Regions from separate parts of the Homo sapiens genome. Here all the other regions are linked to region 2. Evidence: promoter capture Hi-C in 16 types of primary human blood cells and fetal thymus (Javierre and others, 2016). All regions are on one chromosome and are shown on one strand. The core of a region is centred on a gene start or on the middle of the fragment in contact, and the rest is flanking DNA. Distances in the headings are between cores, read along the strand shown.

Region 1 (3,574 bases), core at 102-2,601, 2.1 Mb before region 2:
CTCTGACCAGGATTACTGCATATCCCAAGTGGTCCACATACATCGACTAGGGCTTCCCCAACCCCCGTCTGTTCACACCACTGAGCCTGAGGGATCAAGTCCCCTCCTCCACCACACCCCACTGGGGGAAGACGGCTCAGTGGTATCTCATCCGTTTTAAAATAAAAGCTACAAATTCCTGCAAGGTCTGACCGCTATCACGTACAGCTTCATCTTGTACCATACTCCCTTCATTCTCTTTGTACCAGCCACACTGGCTCTTTGTGCTTTTAGTCATTTTCCTCCCAAGTGCCTCAGGGCTCTGAACAAGTAGTTCTCTATGGAAGGTTCTGCCTTCACTTCTTCACCTAATTAATTACAACACTTCCTGCAGCTACCAGCGCAGGCATCTTTTCCTCTGAAAAACCTTCCTGCTTATTTCAGGCACTCATAGCATCAGGCAGCAGTAGGAGGCATTTCCATGTATTAGTGAGGTCATTGTTTAACGTTTTCCCCACCAGAGTTAAACGCCCTGAGAGTAGGGACCGTGCCCGGTTCACAACATACCCCCAACGCGCTGCTAAATGAATATCAGCAGGACGACTGAGGCAATGACCACGTTCATGGGCATGAGTCTCAAATTTCTCAACAAGACTGTGCTCTGGAGAAGGAGTCGGACATTTCCTTCATCACTGTCTCTCTCAGGGGGGCATACAGTAGGCCCTGATCAAAAACTGCAAAATCAGTGGCAGAAACAAGTCAGCCTCCTCGGCCAAATGGGGCACCGGAGGAGGCTGGGACGCAGGCCTTTCTCCCTGGGAATGCCCGGCACAGGACTGGCCACGATGGGCGCTCTTGAAGAAGGGAGCCGCAGGGGCTGGGTCTTGCCGCCAGAGACCCCAAGGCTCCGCTCCTGCCCCGAAAGGGAGCCCAGGCTACTACTTACCACAGCTGGGGACTCGGGGCCCGCCTCCCACCCCTTGCTGTCAGCACCCTCAGCTGAGAAGGGCAGGTTCAGACTGCACAACCGAGGCGTCGCCTCCAGACTCAGGCAGCCACCCACCCCGTTCTTCCTCATACGTACTAGGCGTCAGCTCCAGGTCCCCGAGTCGCTGCGCTGAACTAAACGCCGACCCCAGTCAGCCAGCGCGTTTCCACCCACAAGACCCAGCGCGCCTAGGGCGGTCGCCAGCTCCGTCCACCAATCCTGGTATCGCACTCTCATGACGTCAGAAAGATATGCCCAATAACAAGAGACTATCCGAGGGCGGTGCAAATGGAAATATTGAAAGCCGATTGGTTCTTCCAAGCTGGAAGTTGTGGAGGAAGGACTAATTTGGAACCAATTGCGTGGCGCCTGAGAGCGGCAGCGCGGTCAGTGGCGGCGCTGAAGAGACCGGTTGCCGCCATGATAGAACAGCAGAAGCGTAAGGGCCCAGAGTTGCCGCTGGTTCCAGTCAAGCGGCAGCGGCATGAGTTGCTGTTGGGAGCGGGGTCTGGCCCAGGAGCCGGGCAGCAGCAGGCGACGCCGGGAGCCTTGCTGCAAGCGGTAAGTGAAGAAGCAGGCGGCCTTTGGCCCTCAGCTCATCTTCCTCCCCTCAGAGCGCTGTATCTGGTGATCCCTGACCCTTTCCCGCATTGCGGGGGCAGAACGAGAGTTTCTACGCAGAGTTAAAGCACATAAACACTGTAAAAGCTCCCCATAGCCTGCGAATGCTGCGTACGTGTTCCCCCGTTTGGCGCCCGTTTTCAGCCTCTCGACTGCCCTGAGATAGCATTAGAATTAGAGTTGAGGACCTTGGGCTCAAAACCCTGACCCGGGTTTAAGCATCCTGACTCTAACATGGATCTGGCATAGAACAAAAATTCCGAAGAGTGTGTAGAATGAATGAATGAGGGAGGGAAGAAAAAAGGGAAATGATTTGTGTTGGCTCGTTTTGGGACTTTGGGCAAGTTGCTTTTCCCTTTATTTCTCTGCACTAGTATTATTAACAACTAAATAGCAGCTAACATTCATTGACTCTTGTACTAAAGTGTTTCGTATATGAAATTTCCATTGATCTTGGTAGCAGCCTGTTAGGAACGTTATTAACCCATTTTGCAGATGGAAAAACAGACTTACCAAGTACGTGATAGAAGCAGATTTCGAACTGAGAAACCATGCTCCTAACTACATTTTTTGTAAGATAGAAATAGTGATCACACTTCTAATGTCCTGTTTAGGCTCAGACGAGGAAATACGAGTGTCCTCACATCTCCTCAATAAATCCTGCTGGCACCGTCCTCAAAATAGGTCTAGAATTGCTACTTCTACCATCTCCATCATTGCCTCATGGCCTAAGCCATTATTATCTCATCTGGCATTTTTGTAGTGGGACCCTAACTGGTCTTCCACTTTCTACCTTTGTATCAGCACCTGTTACCAAGCCAATAACCAAAGGAATCCTTCTAAACATCAGATCACATTACACTCTGCAGAAAACTTTCTGGTGGCTTTGTACTTCATCCAGAGTAAAAACCAAAATTCTTGTAATTATTTGCCCTCTTTCCCTTTACCTCTCTGACCAATTTCTTATTGCTCACCTGGCTTCAGTTACTCTCTCTTCCAAGCCTCTGCTTCAGGACCTTTGCATTTGCTGTCCTCTCTGTGGGATTGCTCTTCACAAATGTTTACATGGTTTACTATTCAGCTCCTGCGAATATTTGCCCAAATGTAATTTTTTCAGTGAGGATTTTCCTGACCACCCTATTTTAAATTGCAGTACCACATACTGTGGAACCCACATTGCTTCTCTCTCTCTCTTTTTTTGTTTTTTTGTTTTTAGACAATCTCTCTGTGTTGACCACTGGCTCAGTACAGCCTCCACCACCTGGGCTCAAGTGATCCTCCTGCCTCAGCCTCCTGAGTAGCTGGGACCACAGACACACACCACCACATCTAACTAATTGTATTTTTTTGTAGAGACAGGATTTCACTCCTGAGCTCAAGCAATCCGCACACCTTGGCCTCCCAAAATGCTGAGATTACAGGCATGAGCCACCATCCCCATCCCTTCTTTTGCTCTATAGCACATGACACCACATATATAGTTTGCTTGTTTTCTCTCACCTTCCCTTCTCCCTTCCCCCTTTCCCACTGGAACAGCGAGCTCCATTGTTTATTTTGTTCATTGCTGTTTGCCCAGTGCCTAGCACGTAACTTCTTTTTTTTTTTTTTAAGATGGAATTTTGCTCTTGTCACCCAGGCTGGAGTGGAGTGGCGCAATCTCGGTGCACCGCAACCTCCGCCACCCGGGTTCAAGCGATTCTCCTGCCTCAGCCTCCTGAGTGGCTGGAATTACAGGCGCCCGCCACCATGCCTGGCTAATTTTTGTATATTTTTAGTAGAGACGGAGTTTCACCATGTTGGTCAGGCTGGTCTCAAACTTTTGACCTCAAGTGATCCGCCCACCTCAGCCTCCCAAAGTGCTGGGATTACAGGTGTGAGCCACCGCGCCCAGCCTGCACATAACATTTTTTAAAACTAAATGAATCTGGCCGGGCTTGGTGGTGGGTGCCTGTAATCCCAGCCACTCGGGAGGCTGATGCAGGAGAA
Region 2 (3,069 bases), core at 59-2,558:
TTTCAGGCAGAAGGAGTGGCCTGAATAAAGGCACAAGACACACTGGGGAAGACGGGTATCAGATGCAGCTGGATCACAGGCTATGCACGGTCCAACAGGAGAAGATGAAGCTGGAAATGCAGTGTGGGAGTCAGAGTGCAAAGAATCTTGAATGCAAGTCCAGGAAATTGGACTTGAACCCCTCAGTCAGTAGTTCTCAAACTATGCCCCTGCAAGAACCCAGATGGCCTAGACTAAAAGTGAGGGCTATTGGGATGCACAGGAGGCTAAAGTCCAGCCCCAAGGAGGAGGACTTGCTGGATGATTCTTCAGGCTTCCTGACTGGGCTCCCCAGAAATTCAGAGGAGCCAATTTGGTGAAGAAGAGAATGTCGACATCTCAATGTCACCTAGGGAGTCTTACAACAGAAGGTTACGTTGTACTTCCCAGTTCAAGTAAGCCTATGTGTCACTGGGGAAAAGGGTAAGCAGGACTGGTCATCGTGTGTGTGCTGGCACATAAATGTGGGGCCAAGCCTTTCCCCCACCATGGGACACCAACTTTCTCTAATAATAAAAACAAGTACAGACATTTAGTGAGCACATACTATAAGCCAGACCCTAGTCTGAGGGTTTTATGTGTGATATTTCTCATTTAATCACAATAACCCCCGATAATATTTATCAAATGCTTCCATGTGCCAAGCATTGTACTAAATGCTTCAAGTGGATAATATCTCACTTGACCCTCACAACAATCTTGAAACAGATAACTAGTATTCCTTCCATTTTAAGAGTAAGAAAGTGAAGACACAGAGAGGCCTGGTGACTTGTCCGAAATCAAATGGCTGGAAAATGGCAGAGCTAGGACATAAAGCCAGGTTTGTCCAAATCTAGCTCACAGTACTTTGCTGTGCTCTCTTCCTCAGAGGAAAGGCTTGGAGATGGCAAGCTTCAAGTCAATAAAATCCAGGAAAGGAACTCTTCCTTATCCTTCAAAGCCCTGGCTCAGTATCTTAAAACCTGTTTCCTGGGACACCTGCATCAGAATATTCTTGGGAGCTTGTAAGGATGTAGATTCCTGGAACCCCCATCCGCAAGATTCTAATTCAGTAGGTCTAAGATGGGACCTCGGATTATTTTTATGCACACAGAAGATTTTGAATCACAGGGCTGGCTCTAACAGCACCTCCTCCAAGAGCCCCCACCCCATCCCACCCCATCCCAGAGCACTTCTCTTCAGACTACAGCATTGCACTCTGGCACGAGCCACAGCTCGATCTGGGGTTTTAGTAATGTTCATGTCTTCCCTACACCAAAAATCAGACTAGATCCTTCATAGGGCTACACCTTTTTACAGGCATTTCCAGTGTTCCACTTAATCCCTTTCTACACTGTGAGCATTTTGAGAGAGGACCCTTCTCCTTGTGATTCCTGTCTTACATCTGAACAGAGTTTTTTACAATGCGTTCTCCCACCCACAATAGCATTCCTCTATTATTTCATCCAATCCTCACAACAATCCGGAAGGAGGCATATTATCCCCATTGTACCGATGAGAAAAATTCAGAGTTTCACCTGCCCAAGGTGGCCAAGCTAGGAAGTGGCAGGGCTAGGATTTGAACCTAAGTTTTCTAACTCCAAGCCCCATACTCCTGCCTCCACAGCAGCTTTCGTGTACTCTCCTCAGTGTAGGGAAGTAAGCTTTGCCTCCCTATGCCGTTACATGGTAGTGGTGATTAAATGAGATAATACCTTAAAGAGCCTGGCTCGGTGAGCACTCAATATATTATGTGAAGGGTAAACTGAGGCCAGGGAGAGTAAATATTTCCTCCAAATCAAACACCAAACTGCAGGCTGTAGACACGACTTTGGACTAGCCCCAGACTCTCCTTGTTGAGACAACAGCTTTGGCGGCCTCGCAAGCTCCGCACCCCCGGATCCCTCCGGGGCCCACACGCAGTCTAGCCAGGCGCCACCACTTGGGCAGCGAAGGAAGGAAACGCCCTTCAAAGGGACCAAGGGGGAGTGGTCACCCGGCGGGGCAGGGGCGGGGCGCAGGCGCGCGGTCGCTGGAAGATGACGTAGCCGGGGCGTCAGGCTCTGTGTTGGTTGGAGCGAGCATGTGGGTCTGCAGTACCCTGTGGCGGGTGCGAACCCCCGCCCGGCAGTGGCGGGGGCTGCTCCCAGCTTCTGGCTGTCACGGACCTGCCGCCTCCTCCTACTCCGCATCCGCCGAGCCTGCCCGGGTCCGGGCGCTTGTCTATGGGCACCACGGGGATCCAGCCAAGGTCGTCGAGTAAGAGACGGCGCCGAAGCCGGGGAAGGGGACTGGGGTTTCTGGAAGGCTTTAACACGAGCTGCGGACTGGGAAGAGAGGGACAGGGTCCGAGGAAGGGGGCAGAGAATAGCAAACCGAAGCCGAAGCCCAGGGCGTTTTTGGTAGGTCAGAAAGACCGTACTTGAAGGTAGCTGAAGACCCGAGAGGCAATTATCAGGGTATTAATGGCTGATGTTTATTGATCGAATATTGTGTCAGGCAATCCCTTGTTTAAATGGATGCTCTCATTTAATTGTCACAACAATGTTTTGGGGTAGTTATTGATTTATCCCCATTTTGCAGATGAAAACTGAGGCAGAAGAGGTAAAATCACTCGTCCAAGGTCACACAGCCAGTAAGTGACAGGGTCAGAATTCCAACCTATGTCTGACTGACCTGCGTGAGTTCTTACTATTATTATTATTATTTGGAAGAAGTTTTCAGAATACTTTTACATCCATTTGGATCTTCATGTGTCAGTAAAGAGTAGGTCATAGATCATTGTTTCCAGAGGGCAAGGGACTTGCCCAGAGTGATACCGCTAATAAGTGATTGGAACAGGAGACTGGAATCCATGGCTTCTGATTCCAAACTCATGTTTCTCTCCACTGCACCGTATATGCATCTTGGCTTGGTTAAAAAGAGCTGCTTTGGTGCCATACAGACCCAAGTATCTATATTTGGTCAAATACAGGCTCAACGTCTTAGTAGCTGTTTGGTCTTAGAGAAGTCATTCAACTTCTCGTTACTTTTATGACTTTGTCCTCCTCC
Region 3 (3,239 bases), core at 530-3,029, 2.4 Mb before region 2:
AAGGAGTGGTTTGAACCTAAGTTTGGGGCATGAGCAGGTATAATAAGCTCATTTTCAAATTTACACATTTGTTCCTGTCAGCTAAGAAAAGTGAAATTTAGAGAGGTTAAATAACTTGCCTAAATAAAATGTGGTAGATATACACTGTGGAATACTATGCAGCCATAAAAAAGGAACAAGATCATGTCCTTTGCAGGGACGTGGATGGAATTGGAAGCCATTATCCTCAGCAAACTAACAGAGAAACAGAAAACCAAACACCGCATGTTACCACTTATAAGTGGGAGCTGAATGAGGAGAGCACATACACCACTGGGGTCTGTCGGAGCGTAGAGGGAGGTGGGAAGAGGGAGAGCATCAGGAAGAATAGCTAATGGATGCTGGGCTTAACACTTGGGTGATGGGATGATGTGTGCGACAAACCACCATGGCACACATTTACCTATGTAACAAACCACATCCTGCTCATATACCCCTGATCTTAAAAGTTGGAAATTAAAAACAAACAAACAAAAAACCTGCCTAAGGTGATACAGTTAGAAAGTGATAAAACAAAGATCCTCCCTCCAAAGCAGAAGTGCTGAATGGTGGAACTGAGCACAGAAATACAGAGTAGCAGAAGGGGCCGTAAGATTGGAAAGTTGAGGCTGGGCCAGATTCTGAAGGGCCTGGAGTACCAGAATGAAGAGATTGGGCCTTATTTTGTAGGCGTGGATGAAGAGCATCCATTGTAGGCTGTGTAGTGGGCAAGTGGCATGATCAGCACTGTGATTTTGGAAAGTGCACTTGGTTAGATAGATGGACTAGACTGGATAACAGTTCGTAACATTCATTTATTCATTTATTTTAATAATCGTGTCAGTCGCTATACTAGGTACTGGAGTTATAATGACAAGCAAAAACAGACAAAACCCTAGCCCACATGAAAGAACTTGACAAAGAAATCAAATAAGCACACAAATAAGTGTAGAAACGGAACCACTGAGTGGCAAGTACATGGTGCTGAGATCACTCGGTCACCAGGATTTGACCTACGATGGGGACCGACCTAGACCTCCCTGCTGAGAACTGGACATCCATTGACCCCGGTTCTAGGCGACCCACTGTGAGCTAGGGCAAGGCAACTGCCTCTCTGCACCTCAGTTTCCCCATTTATGAAGAAAGAGGCACTAGATAATTCAATTTTCCTCCAACTCTAATGATCTGGGGTTTTTTTCTCCAAAGACCACAGATCTGTATCCCACTACAAGGGTACTAACTGGTACCCAGTACCTTGACATTAGAGGAGTAATTCCGCCATCGCCTCTCCCTACCGGGAAGAGTCGGTCGGTTCCCCGTTGTCAGGGCAACCGCCTGGCCACCGCCCCTCGTCTCCTTTCCCGCGGCTCATCTGCGGAAACTCAGGAGCTACTCCAGCAATTACGTCACTATCATGCGTCCCATTTGCCAGGTTATAACATGGCTACCGCAGCAACACCCCACCCAGGCTTCTCACTAAATTTCCCAACCTGACCACCTCTTCGGCCCACTCCACCTCAGGAAAAGGAGGAACATTAGCGCTGGTACAGCCGCCAAGACTTCCGGAAGCTCCATCAATCACTTAGCTCCCCTGGTCTCTCGGGTAGGCATCCGCCCACCGCCCCCATCGTCACTTCCGTCGGCCGACAGCACCCAAGATTGACAGGCGCGGACGTCCAATCAGATGCGGGCCCAGCCCCAAAGCCGAGACGAGGGGCGGGTTTGAGAGCGGAAAGCCCCACCCCTTGCCTGAGTGTGACGTCAGAATCACCATGGCCAGCTATCCTTACCGGCAGGTGAGTGTGTGAGGGGCCCGCGAATCCAGGTAGCGGCGGTGCCAGGCGCAGGCCCGACGTCCCCCTGCTCTTTCTCCCCGCTTTCTCCGCGCCCTTCCCACGATGGGTTCGCTTCAGCGAGGCCTTGCGCTGTAGAGAACCGAAAAGGGACCGTCGGTCGCGCCCTGCTCACGTCATGAAGGACCGCACATTCGCGAGGTCGTGTCGCGCCCCCTTGACGTCGCTCACTCGAGGATTTGGGGACCTTGGACCCCACAGGTCCAGGCTGGCGCTGGCCTGGGCTCCACAGCCTCCCAAGGCCCTCATGGGGGCCTTGGGCGGGGGCATCAGCCATGACCGGAGGTTTAGAGTTCTGGTTCCGCCGATCTCATTTGGGGCGTCGGATAAAAATCCAGGCTTCCGGACCCACCCCACACTGCATCAGAGTCATCAGGAAACTCTGGTTGTAGCAGGCGCCACAAGTGAGCTGGTTTGACCACTGACTTAGTTCAACACCGCCATTTCGCGTGTAGAAAAGTGAACCCCGAGAAGACACAGAACTTACCTGAAGTCACCAGGCAGTTAGGCAGCAGGGCCGAGGTCAGAACCCGGGCTATCTTCAGATGCCTCTTCCCCAGCGTATCTTGATTCAGTCAGGAATACCGCAGCAAGGTGATTCTGTGGCCAGAATTCTTTGTTGGGTGATAGTAGGGTGTTGAAGTGCACTTTGGTGTCAGAGGTAGGTTCATATCTTAGCTCTACCACCTAAATAGTTGTGAGCCCTTGAGCAAGCTGTTTTGCCTTTCTGAGTCCAAGTTTCCGCCTGTAAAATAGGGCCGAATAATAGGATCTGCCTCATAAAGCTGTTGTGGAGAGTCAGGAGGTGATGCTTACGAAGCGTTTGGTACATAGTGAGGTGTAACATGTGTTGCCCTTTAGCATTTTGATTTTTAGTAGACTTCTAAAAGGCCAGTGCCCGGAGGGTCCTCAAAATAGAGCCCTCATTTTACAGAGGAGGAAATGAAGCCCACAGAGGGCTGCGATCACACAGTTATTTAGGAGATGAAATCCATAAACGAAATGTGGGAAAACAAGATCAATTGGTATATTACACAGTGCTCAACTGAGTTTAGTCACAGGCCAAAAGATGTAACAGTCCTTCCAGGGAGTGCAGTCTTGTGCGGGTTACACAGTGTTTGGACCTCCATTATCCTAATCATGAAGTCCCTATCGGCATGCAGGTATTATTACCCCTAATTAACTGCTGAGGAGCAAACCCAAAGAGGTTAAGTGGCTTCCCAAAAGTCACACGTAGTAAGTGAGGGTGAGGCCATGACCAGAGCTTAGGACTTCTCTTATTGCATCCTTAGAGAGAGGTAGGAAAGAGAGAGGCCAGTGCGGGCTGGAGTTAGGAAGTGTAGCATAGCAGTTGCTTCCTAAAGTCCA

What was found. Contacts are between HindIII fragments. The CHiCAGO score rates a contact against its expected background, and 5 or more counts as called.
Region 1: the fragment with the promoter of SNRNP40 here is called in contact with a fragment that was not itself captured in region 2 in 2 of 17 cell types (activated CD4 T cells and total B cells); the score reaches 5.4 in activated CD4 T cells.
Region 3: a contact is called between the fragment with the promoter of PEF1 here and a fragment that was not itself captured in region 2, in 1 of 17 cell types (non-activated CD4 T cells). The highest score is 5.4, in non-activated CD4 T cells.

What each region holds. Positions count from the first base shown.
Region 1 is chr1:31,294,565-31,298,138 of GRCh38, reverse strand. It overlaps SNRNP40 (small nuclear ribonucleoprotein U5 subunit 40), which reads left to right and starts at 1,351. Exons shown (of 10, transcript NM_004814.3): 1 at 1,351-1,528. The coding sequence starts at 1,388. ZCCHC17 (zinc finger CCHC-type containing 17) reads right to left here and starts at 1,107. Exons shown (of 8, transcript NM_016505.4): 1 at 1,064-1,107. RefSeq lists an enhancer at 1,373-1,582. The HindIII fragment of the contact is 7,877 bases long and covers 1-3,574 here.
Region 2 is chr1:29,229,939-29,233,007 of GRCh38, reverse strand. It overlaps MECR (mitochondrial trans-2-enoyl-CoA reductase), which reads left to right and starts at 2,074. Exons shown (of 10, transcript NM_016011.5): 1 at 2,074-2,277. The coding sequence starts at 2,102. RefSeq lists enhancers at 2,063-2,172, 1,697-2,197, 2,198-2,698. The HindIII fragment of the contact is 752 bases long and covers 933-1,684 here.
Region 3 is chr1:31,643,416-31,646,654 of GRCh38, reverse strand. It overlaps PEF1 (penta-EF-hand domain containing 1), which reads left to right and starts at 1,779. Exons shown (of 5, transcript NM_012392.4): 1 at 1,779-1,814. The coding sequence starts at 1,791. PEF1-AS1 (PEF1 and COL16A1 antisense RNA 1) reads right to left here and starts at 2,519. Exons shown (of 6, transcript NR_184313.1): 1 at 2,359-2,519; 2 at 1,809-1,943. RefSeq lists enhancers at 1,310-1,649, 1,890-1,959, 1,279-2,049. The HindIII fragment of the contact is 8,144 bases long and covers 1-3,239 here.